Regions from separate parts of the Homo sapiens genome. Here all the other regions are linked to region 2. The links are contacts of gene promoters, found by promoter capture Hi-C in blood cells and fetal thymus (Javierre and others, 2016). All regions are on one chromosome and are shown on one strand. The core of a region is centred on a gene start or on the middle of the fragment in contact, and the rest is flanking DNA. Distances in the headings are between cores, read along the strand shown.

Region 1 (3,503 bases), core at 470-2,969, 1.1 Mb before region 2:
TTACCAAAAATGATTTATTTTTATATGAAGTTTAAAGCAGTTTAAATTACATTCATTTGCTGGCTTAGAGAACTGTGGGAAGTCTTGACTTAATGGGTGTTGGGCTTTTGGACTCCTCCTCTGTTTGTCAGTTTTCTTTTTGTTTCTGTTTCCCCCCCTTCCCCCACTCCTCCCCTCTCTTTTTAGGGGCATAGGCAAGGAGCTGTGACAGACAATTTGAGTGTTTTTAAAAATAGTCTCATAAAAAATATACCTTTGACTGGGTGCAGTGGCTCATGCATGTAATCCCAGCACTTTGGGAGGCTGAGGCAGGCACATCACGTAAGGTCAGGAGTTAGAGATCAGCCTGGCCAACATGGTGAAACCTGGTCTTTACTAAAAATACAAAAATAAGCCAGTCGTGATGGTGCGTGCCTGTAGTCCCAGCTACTTGGGAGCCTGAGGCAGGAAAATCACTTGAACTCGCAAGGCAGAGGTTGCAATGAGCTGAAATCGTGCTACTGCACTCCAGCCTGGGCAACAGAGAGAGACTCTGTCTCAAAAAAAAAAAAAAAAAAAAAAGAAAGAAAACAAAATATTTTTTCCCCAACACTTTTCAAAGAATGGTTTAAAAGCAATGACAATCCATGATCAGTGAGAATTCCCACCCAGATTATGGTCTCAATTCCTTTTTCAAAGGGCAGTCAGGCTACTTGGAGACTTGGGTAAATCTATGGATTTTAATACATTCAAGAGGAACAGCAATCAAATGCCATATTTGGATCTGGTGGGATCTCATTCAGACAAAATATAAAAATATTTGAGACAATTCAGGATTTTCTTTCTTTAAGGGCTAGGTATTGGATAATGTTACACATCATTTTTTAAATTTTCTTAGGTGTAAAATCTTAGCGTTTTTTCTTTATATCCATATCTGTTAGGATATTTGTGAAAATATTCATGATTAAAATCACATATTTGGGATTTCATGTTTCAGATATTTTTTAGACTCCCTCATCTGTCAGTGTGGGTGCGGATAATGAAACAAAATGGGCAAGATGTTGGTAATTGTTGAAGCCTGTGCGACGAGACTTGGGAAGTGCAGGATTCTCTATATTTTTGTGTCTGCTTCAGGATGTCCATGACCACTCCCTTTCCCCTCCAAAAAAAAAGTTAAAAAAAAAAAAGCTGGCCAAATCAGTGAACATATTTCGTTTTTGGTCAACAAAGGGCTACCCTGAGAGGAATCTACATGCAGAGAAGTTCAGGAGACTGAACTAACGGAACGTCAGGAAGCGCTGCGGGCTGGAGAGCTGCTGTTGGAACAGGGAGGAGTTCTCCGGGCCGCACCCTGCCTCCGTCCCGCAGGCGAGTTGAGAAGCGCTATCGCCATCTTGTGGCGATAATGGATGGGATAATGTAGCTAAAACTTTGTTTAGTTTTATGAGTTGAGAAGGGCTGTCGCCATCTTATGGCAATAACGGATAGGCTAATGTAGCCAAAACTTTGTTTCGTTTTATGATTTCGATTAGGCATTTCATTGCTACGGTTTAATAATTGAATATACAAGAAATACTATAAACCATCACATCCCCAACAGCCCCCAGCCGCCCAGTTCCCCCATCTACTTGGCAAAGATTCTCTTTTTGACCAAACTCTAGGCGGCTTCTTCTGAGCCCTCTTCTGGACTAGGTGGCCACCTTGGTCTATAAAGACCTGAACAAACCCGAACATAGTTACTAATAGCCCCGGTCTTCTCAAGTGCCTGCCTGAGAAAACTCAATTGATGCCGCCAAAGGAATTTACTGTTTGTTTCAGTCAACGTCTGAAGATAGGGCCCTCGTCTCCCAGGCTCTGGTAGGAGTGGAGCCTGATTTTGATATGTGCCAGTTATGAAACCCAGATGGTTCCCCACTGTCAGTGGTTACTAAATAAAATCTGTTTTCGTCATTTAAAGTAAGGCCTGGTGTTTTATCTTTGATATACTACAATTAACCACTTTTATTCGTTTCCTGTGTACCTGTCTGGAATATCTTTATACAAACACAAATAAACAAATGTGTCCCCTTTCATTCACATTTGCCCCCTTTCATTCAAATGACTGATGGTCACATGTTCTTCACAGGTTCTGTCTCTTGCTTTTCTCATTAACTGTCTTTCTTATTGCAGGTGGAGTGGCTGAAACTTCTCAGCAGGCGCATCTACACTAGTGACCTGAGGAGAGAAACCCTAACCCCACAATGGCTGCATCTTCTCTGAAGACGAGACTGATGCTCATCTTTGAAATGAAGGGCAGTGTGTGCATTTCTCCATGAAGGTATCCAGAAACAGCCATGCCAGAGCTGCTGTGGGGTGGCTGAACTGCTATTCCTTTTCTAGGGTGGGATCCCCACTCTTTGTAAGGAAGGATATTGGGGTCCTGACACTGGGAACTCATCTTGTCAGTGAGGCCTTCTTTAACTGCTGTCTTGTAATTGAGCCACCCCATCTGTGTTTCCTGTTCCAATTTAGGACTTTTTTTTTTTTATCATAATATAAAGATCTGAAATGCTATGTTTTCCTTATTCATTGGCTTATTATCTTTACTATCCCATCCTCCACACTAAAAGTTTTTTCGAGCTGGATTTGGGAGTTGTGGGGTAGGTTATATTTTGATCACTTGTATTTCCCAGCTTCTAGAACAGTGCCCAGCAAAGTACTTCTCTGAATAAATGAATAAAGTAATATTCCTCTGCTCTGCTGTTGCCAACTGGAATATCCTGAGGGAAATTTCTTTACTTTCCTCAGGGGATGATCCAGAAGATGAAAAACAAATTGTCATTCCATATAGTCCTCTTCTGAGTGTTTTTCAGTTTTGTTAAAACTCAGATTTTTTCTTTTTACCTGAATGTTTTTTTGTTAATGATTATTAGCATATACAGTATTTTCTTTTATGTACCAAAAAAAGGCAATTGATACAGTGCATGACTTGAAAATATACCTGCCTTCTCTGAGGCTCAAATTCAGGACTGTATTATTTGGAAAGCCTTGTTGGGTTGTGGCTCCCAAGAAATCATACCTAATTTCCCTTCTTTGAGAGCACTGATTTCTGAGTTTCCATTTCTCCTAGAAGAGAAACATTGGCTTGTAAGAATTTATGTATCATCAATGCTTCCTTTTCCATCCTGCACTTAGAAGGACCCAAGACTTGAGGGCTGCGCTGTCAACACTATTCCTTGCTCACCCTCTCTTTTGTTCTAATTATTTATGTCTTCCCGCCTTCAGAAATATCAGTTGCTCTTTCACCAGCCATTGTTTCCTCTCTGGCCCTAGTGCAGAGTAGGTGACGTAGTACAGCTGAAAGGATGAATGCTGGCAAACTTGTTTCTAGCCTAGATTTCTCCTTATTTTAAATCTGCACTTGCAACCACATGGCCTGAGACACTCCTCTTGAAAATATCACCAAAAGGACCTTATTATAAAAAGTCACCGCCATCTATTCAGGGCTATGTATTAGGGGACAATAAAGTGTAAGTCATGGCCAG
Region 2 (3,622 bases), core at 990-3,489:
CCTGCCACCACGCCAGGCTAATTTTTGTATTTTTTTTAGTAGAGATGGGGTTTCACCATGCTGGCCAGGCTGGTCTCGAACTCCTGACCTCAGGCGATCTGCCCGCCTCAGCCTCCCAAAGTGCTAGGATTACAGGCGTGAGCCACCAAGCCTGGCCTAAGTGACATGTTCTTATATTGTTCCTTTCTTTCTTTTTTTTTCGACTGAGTCTCACCCTGTTGCACAGGCTGGAGTGCAGTGGCGTCATTTCGGCTCATTGCAACCTCTGCTTCCCGGGTTCAAGCGATTCCCTTGCCTCAGCCTCCTGAGTGCCACCACCCCCAGCTAATTTTTGTACTTTTAGTAGAGATGGTGTTTCACCATGTCGGCTAGGCTGATCTCAAACTCCTGGCCTCAGGTGATCCGCCCCCGAGTCTCCCAAAGTGCTAGGATTACAGGCGTGGGCCACGGGGCCCAGCCTTATATTATTTCTTTTACTACAATATATTAGTATGATGCAGGTGCTTCAATTGTTTATACACTTTCCATAATTTTGTATAATTCTTATACCCTGTCACTCTGAGGAATAGCCGGTCTAAGTGTTTTTCCACCACTGCTAATTCATCCATCACTAATCTCATTAGACTGTTAATTCCCAGAGGACATAAGCACACAAGCAGACAATGTTTACAAATGTTGGACAAATGTTATTTAATAAAACAATGGGGTCACCCTTAGTCTAAAAGATGTTTCACTTTTCATTTGTCATTGAACTCTTATTTGTAGGTTCCCTTTTGACTTTCCCACAATCTAAGGCTGTTCTCTTTAACACATATTTTCATGAAAACATATATTTGAGCAGAAATTGTTGGGGAGTTGTAATATTACCTTTGTCCCTAAATATGAATCTATAATTATATCAAATATATGGGCAGACAATTTACTTTGCCTTTAATCTCAAGAAAAAAATAGCAATTACTTGGGGTCGGAGAGTAAAATAAGAAGTAGTGAACCTTAAAGTAGCAAACTTTAGAACAGAATAGTTTCAGAGGGGATGAGAAGAGGTGATTTTTCAGCTCATCAACAACAGATCTTATAATAAATTACATGTTCTGGTACTTTTCTTGTCTTTCTGTGTTAAATTTTGCTATTTAAAAAAATAAATTTCAAATACATTGTTCATCTTAAAAGTCAAGAGTGTGTTTTATTAAAGTCAGTTGCTTTATTTGCAACTCAAAAGATATATTTGAGTTCCCAACTGGAGATTGTCCTATATGGTAACTTGCGTAAGGTATGGTTACTGAAAGTAACCTACAATTTTCATGGGCTGAAATTCATTTCTATATTGCAGCGTACAAAAATAAATAAATAAAAAATGCTTGTTTTCTTTGAAAACATATTATCTCAGTGCCTCTAACTGCCAAATCTATTGGCTTTTTTGCAGGCTTAAGGGCTCTCCCTTGTTCCTTTATGATCTCTATCTTGAGGGCCAGACCTCCTGCCTTACACAACTCAGAGGGGGACCTCAGAGCTCTTTAAAAAGAGCCCAATTTCTCGCCTGTAGAGAAGTGAAAAGGATGCCCCACCCCCATCTATGAAAAGAGGGATTTGATAGTTTCAATGTCTTCAAATCAAAGATTTAAGTCTGTAGCCCCCCACCACCCCGGACCCTAGCAAGGCTCATGAACCCCCTCCCATCCCGCCCTAATTGCTTTGGACTGGCCGTGGAATCCTTGTCCCAGTCCACAGTTCCTGTGCGACTGCACGAAGAATTCACAGAGGACCTGTGTTACTTCCCTTGTGAAGAAACAGAATTATCATGAAAATTTAGGTGGAAACCATTTCGCTTTTTTCTTCAAAAATAAGGGAAGCATGTGCCCAACCACCCCTGGGAAAAAGAACCTTCAGGGGCAAAGGAGCGAACAGGTAATTTATAAGAAAAACAGAAAGTGGTCTCTGACTGCCCCAGACTTCCTTCGGAGTTGGGGGAATTGGGGACGCCTGGACGCGTTGTTTTTGTGTTTGTGGAAAAAATAAATGAAGAGCATGAAGCCCGAGGCTTCTGAGATCCTTTCCTGACCAAACCCAAGTGATTTGGTGCGGGGAATTTTAATATTTTTCCCCTTTTGTGAGGTGGAACAAACACAACTTGGGAGCAGCGCAGCGGCTCAGAGCCTGCCAGCCAGGCGGGCGACCAGAGCACCAATCAGAGCGCGCCTGCGCTCTATATATACAGCGGCCCTGCCCAGGCGCTGCTTCATCGGCGCTTTGCCACTTGTACCCGAGTTTTTGATTCTCAACATGTCCGAGACTGCTCCTGCCGCTCCCGCTGCCGCGCCTCCTGCGGAGAAGGCCCCTGTAAAGAAGAAGGCGGCCAAAAAGGCTGGGGGTACGCCTCGTAAGGCGTCTGGTCCCCCGGTGTCAGAGCTCATCACCAAGGCTGTGGCCGCCTCTAAAGAGCGTAGCGGAGTTTCTCTGGCTGCTCTGAAAAAAGCGTTGGCTGCCGCCGGCTATGATGTGGAGAAAAACAACAGCCGTATCAAACTTGGTCTCAAGAGCCTGGTGAGCAAGGGCACTCTGGTGCAAACGAAAGGCACCGGTGCTTCTGGCTCCTTTAAACTCAACAAGAAGGCAGCCTCCGGGGAAGCCAAGCCCAAGGTTAAAAAGGCGGGCGGAACCAAACCTAAGAAGCCAGTTGGGGCAGCCAAGAAGCCCAAGAAGGCGGCTGGCGGCGCAACTCCGAAGAAGAGCGCTAAGAAAACACCGAAGAAAGCGAAGAAGCCGGCCGCGGCCACTGTAACCAAGAAAGTGGCTAAGAGCCCAAAGAAGGCCAAGGTTGCGAAGCCCAAGAAAGCTGCCAAAAGTGCTGCTAAGGCTGTGAAGCCCAAGGCCGCTAAGCCCAAGGTTGTCAAGCCTAAGAAGGCGGCGCCCAAGAAGAAATAGGCGAACGCCTACTTCTAAAACCCAAAAGGCTCTTTTCAGAGCCACCACTGATCTCAATAAAAGAGCTGGATAATTTCTTTACTATCTGCCTTTTCTTGTTCTGCCCTGTTACTTAAGGTTAGTCGTATGGGAGTTACTGAGGTATCAGACGAATTGGGTGACGGGGTTGGAGAGTGGCCGTGGTGAGGTTACAGCATTTAAACCTTTATTGCGGCTTCTAGGTCCCTGACCGGAGGCTTTTCTCGCTGGCGGATGGTTTTGGGATGGCAGTCCCGCCCCAGGCCTGTGAACGGCAGAAAAGACCGCAAAACAAGAGCCAGTTTCTTAGTCTAAAGGGATGTCCGGATTGGACTAAAAAATTTTCAAAAGTCCCGCCCTGCTCCCGGGTTGGTCCGTTCTTCTAGTACATGACTTTCATTCTGTATTTAATTGGATGGTGGAAGACGTTGCTTATTCTGTGTTTTTTGCTTTACTGTGACTTAAAAGTTTTGCCTCTTTTCTCTTTATATTAATGTCTGGGATTTCGGACGCTTTCCATGTTGTTGGTAGTCAAGTTGATGTCTCCTGGAGGTAGTGGCAACATCCAGCCCTGGGAGGAGAGTGCGTGCAGGTACCTTTGTCCTACATTCCTCTGCTGTTAATTTCTCATTCCTGTGGCAACGAAGGAATGCATTTAAAAAACAGCCACAACAGCGGCAAT
Region 3 (3,206 bases), core at 667-3,166, 1.1 Mb before region 2:
ACCTCTTTATAGGTGTTACTTGATCAGAGACCTACATAGATTGAAAAAAAGTGAGAAAGGTAGTTATCAGGGGAAGAGGGAATTTAAAGTGCAAAGGCCTTAAGACAGAAAATGTGTTTGGCATTTTGTGGGAATAGCCAGAAAGCCTTGAGGCTATGAAGTAAAAGCAGGCCAAGTAATATCAAGAGGGGGTGGGGCGGAGGAAGGAAACTCATAGGGCTTCCTAGGGTAGGTAAATTAATGTGGACAAGCAATCAAAAGCAATAGCAATCCCGATCTAATAAATTTGATAATACAAATTAGCTAGACAGAAAAAGCTATGTTGTATCCTAAGCTACTACAAGAGTGCATTAATACACCTGCTCCAAAGAAATGGGACTAAGGATTTACAAATATGGGATTCAGGAAATTCTGCATCCCATATTCTCCTTCCATCGGAATCAAATTCTAATGCAAATGAGTCACTAGACTTTCATCACCTGGGTAAAGTTACTCTTAAGAGTTAGACCACTTAAGAATCAGGCTGCCCTTTCTTGCTTTTCAAGAATACTTAGAATTGCAAAATTTGCCTTTAAAGAATGGCAAGTATATCCCATTTTTATGGCTGTTTGACAACACTATTAATGTAATAGAATTATTACACTGGAGGCCGGGCGCTGTGGCTCACGCCTGTAATCCCAGCACTTTGGGAGGCCGAGGCGGGCGGATCACCTGAGGTCAGGAGTTCGAGACCAGCCTGGCCACCATGGTGGAACCCCGTCTCCACTAAAAATACAAAAAAACTAGCCGGTCGTGGTGGTGTGTGCCTGTAATCCCAGCTATTCGGGAGGCCGAGACAGGAGAATCGCTTGAACCTGGGAGGTGGAGGTTGCAGTGAGCCGAGATCGCGCCGCGCCACTGCACTCCAGCCTGTTGGAGACTCCATCTCAAAAAAAAAAAAAAAAAAAAAAAAACCACTGGAATTAGTAAATAGATTTCAGGGATTTGTACGTTTGATTTCACTTATTACCCCTGCTGAATAAGCTTCTCCGGAGTATCCTACAACAACTTTTGGGTCTTCATTGCTTTCCAGTGGGTTAATTTAGAAACATTGTAAAGAGTTGCTCCAGCCCAACCGCGAAAGAAGCGCTTTACAATGTTATCTAGCGAAGCAAACATGAAGTGAAACAAACATGACTGTGTCCAGCTTTCTCTAAGACAGTGTAGAATGGCTCTGAAAAGAGCCTTTGTTTTCCAGTTTTCACAACCTCGCTCCTTATTTGGCCTTATGGTGGCTCTCAGTCTTCTTAGGCAGCAGCACGGCCTGGATATTGGGCAAGACACCACCCTGCGCGATGGTGACTTTGCCCAGCAGCTTGTTGAGCTCCTCGTCGTTGCGGATGGCCAGTTGGAGGTGACGCGGGATGATACGGGTCTTCTTGTTGTCGCGGGCCGCATTGCCAGCCAGCTCCAGGATCTCAGCGGTCAGGTACTCCAGCACCGCAGCCAGGTACACTGGCGCGCCGGCTCCAACCCGCTCGGCATAATTACCCTTGCGGAGCAGGCGGTGCACTCGGCCCACGGGGAACTGAAGCCCAGCCCGAGAAGAGCGGGTCTTGGCCTTGGCGCGAGCTTTACCGCCTTGCTTGCCACGTCCAGACATACTGGTCACAACTTACTGAAAGTAGCCAACGAGGAAAGGCAGCGCCTTTTATAAACACTATTGGGCGCGAAAAAGAAGATATGTCATTGGTTAGGGTTGTAGCTTAGTTTTAACCAATGGAAGTACGTCTTTTGGATTTGCAGATTGGGTTGATTGGGTATAACTAACCTCTGACGTCACCCTAATAACCACCAATCAGATACAGGACTTTCACTCTTCACCTTATTTGCATGAGAGGTCCTATATAAAAACGACTCCTGGTACCTTGCTCCCATTACTTCCCGTTTTCTCGATCTGCTGCTCGTCTCAGGCTCGTAGTTCGCCTTCAACATGCCGGAACCAGCGAAGTCCGCTCCCGCGCCCAAGAAGGGCTCGAAGAAAGCCGTGACTAAGGCGCAGAAGAAGGACGGCAAGAAGCGCAAGCGCAGCCGCAAGGAGAGCTACTCCGTATACGTGTACAAGGTGCTGAAGCAGGTCCACCCCGACACCGGCATCTCCTCTAAGGCCATGGGAATCATGAACTCCTTCGTCAACGACATCTTCGAACGCATCGCGGGTGAGGCTTCCCGCCTGGCGCATTACAACAAGCGCTCGACCATCACCTCCAGGGAGATCCAGACGGCCGTGCGCCTGCTGCTGCCCGGGGAGTTGGCCAAGCACGCCGTGTCCGAGGGCACCAAGGCCGTCACCAAGTACACCAGCGCTAAGTAAACTTGCCAAGTAAGCGTCTTAAAGCCCAACCCCAAAGGCTCTTTTAAGAGCCACTTAAATTATCGATATTAGAGCTGTAAACACGTGTTCCTAATCCAGGCTTAAATTCGGGCGATCTTTTTAAAGGGATTATCATGATCTTATCACACTGAGTAATGCATGCAGTGCTTGTAATCGAGTCTGGCTAAGGAGAAGCCACATACACTTTGTTAGTACTGAGTGAGGAATATGGCGCCTAAAAAATTAGGGATGTGCAGGAAACTTGTGTTAACAGAAAGTGCTTCCTGGCTCTTGGCGCGAAAATGGATACTTCCGTTGTGTCGAGTGCTGTGACTTCCTGTTAGAACTTGTTGAAAGCCTATTGTGTCACGTGTACTTTCCACCATGTAATGGCGTTCTAACGTGAGTTTATATATTAGTAAATTTGGTTCCCGATGGCGTTCCAGTACGTATGGCTTTCGCTCGAGCAGTTACCTTATTTAACCTCTTCTAGGCTGTACCCAGCTCTGCCTTGCTTTGCTTCCCCCTCACCCCCTGATTCCATCTCTGCAGCCCACGGGACATCGGGAAGATGCCAGACCACCAGGCAGGATAGTCTGCAAGGGTAAGGGGAGGAGCACAGCTTTTCTCAGGAGTGAAGAAACGGAACATGAAATCATCACGGAGATTTTTGGAATAGTTTACTAGTTTTTAAGGCATGTTCAGCGTCAATTGGTCCAATCAGTAATTTTTCCTTTTGACAAGAAAGCTTATAGAAAAGGAAAATGAAAAGCAAGTAGATTCAGAGGGGAGACAACAGACAGACTAGAGACAGTCCGCCCCGAAGCAAGAAGTTGGAGTAGAGGAGAAGGGA

The links. The method cuts DNA at HindIII sites, captures the fragments that hold promoters and counts their contacts. A CHiCAGO score of 5 or more calls a contact.
Region 1: a fragment that was not itself captured here is called in contact with the fragment with the promoter of H1-2 in region 2 in 1 of 17 cell types (erythroblasts); the score reaches 5.1 in erythroblasts.
Region 3: a contact is called between the fragment with the promoter of H2BC12 here and the fragment with the promoter of H1-2 in region 2, in 17 of 17 cell types (total CD8 T cells, naive B cells, naive CD4 T cells and 14 more). The highest score is 29.0, in total CD8 T cells.

What each region holds. Positions count from the first base shown.
Region 1 is chr6:27,125,108-27,128,610 of GRCh38, reverse strand. No RefSeq gene overlaps it. Among named protein-coding and RNA genes, the nearest start is that of H2BC11, 5.9 kb to the left of the region's middle. RefSeq lists enhancers at 53-212, 1,235-1,304, 1,515-1,564. The HindIII fragment of the contact is 5,241 bases long and covers 1-3,503 here.
Region 2 is chr6:26,055,087-26,058,708 of GRCh38, reverse strand. H1-2 (H1.2 linker histone, cluster member) reads left to right here and starts at 2,239. Exons shown (of 1, transcript NM_005319.4): 1 at 2,239-2,969. The coding sequence starts at 2,281. The coding sequence ends at 2,922. RefSeq lists enhancers at 2,187-2,586, 2,677-2,726, 3,137-3,622 and a silencer at 3,217-3,286. The HindIII fragment of the contact is 9,556 bases long and covers 1-3,622 here.
Region 3 is chr6:27,145,565-27,148,770 of GRCh38, reverse strand. It overlaps H2BC12 (H2B clustered histone 12), which reads left to right and starts at 1,916. Exons shown (of 1, transcript NM_001312653.2): 1 at 1,916-2,410. The coding sequence starts at 1,973. The coding sequence ends at 2,353. It overlaps H2AC12 (H2A clustered histone 12), which reads right to left and starts at 1,665. Exons shown (of 1, transcript NM_080596.3): 1 at 1,209-1,665. The coding sequence starts at 1,642. The coding sequence ends at 1,256. It overlaps MIR3143 (microRNA 3143), which reads right to left and starts at 1,145; the gene lies at 1,083-1,145. RefSeq lists enhancers at 1,279-1,528, 1,859-2,318, 1,573-2,489, 2,909-3,018. The HindIII fragment of the contact is 2,078 bases long and covers 1,026-3,103 here.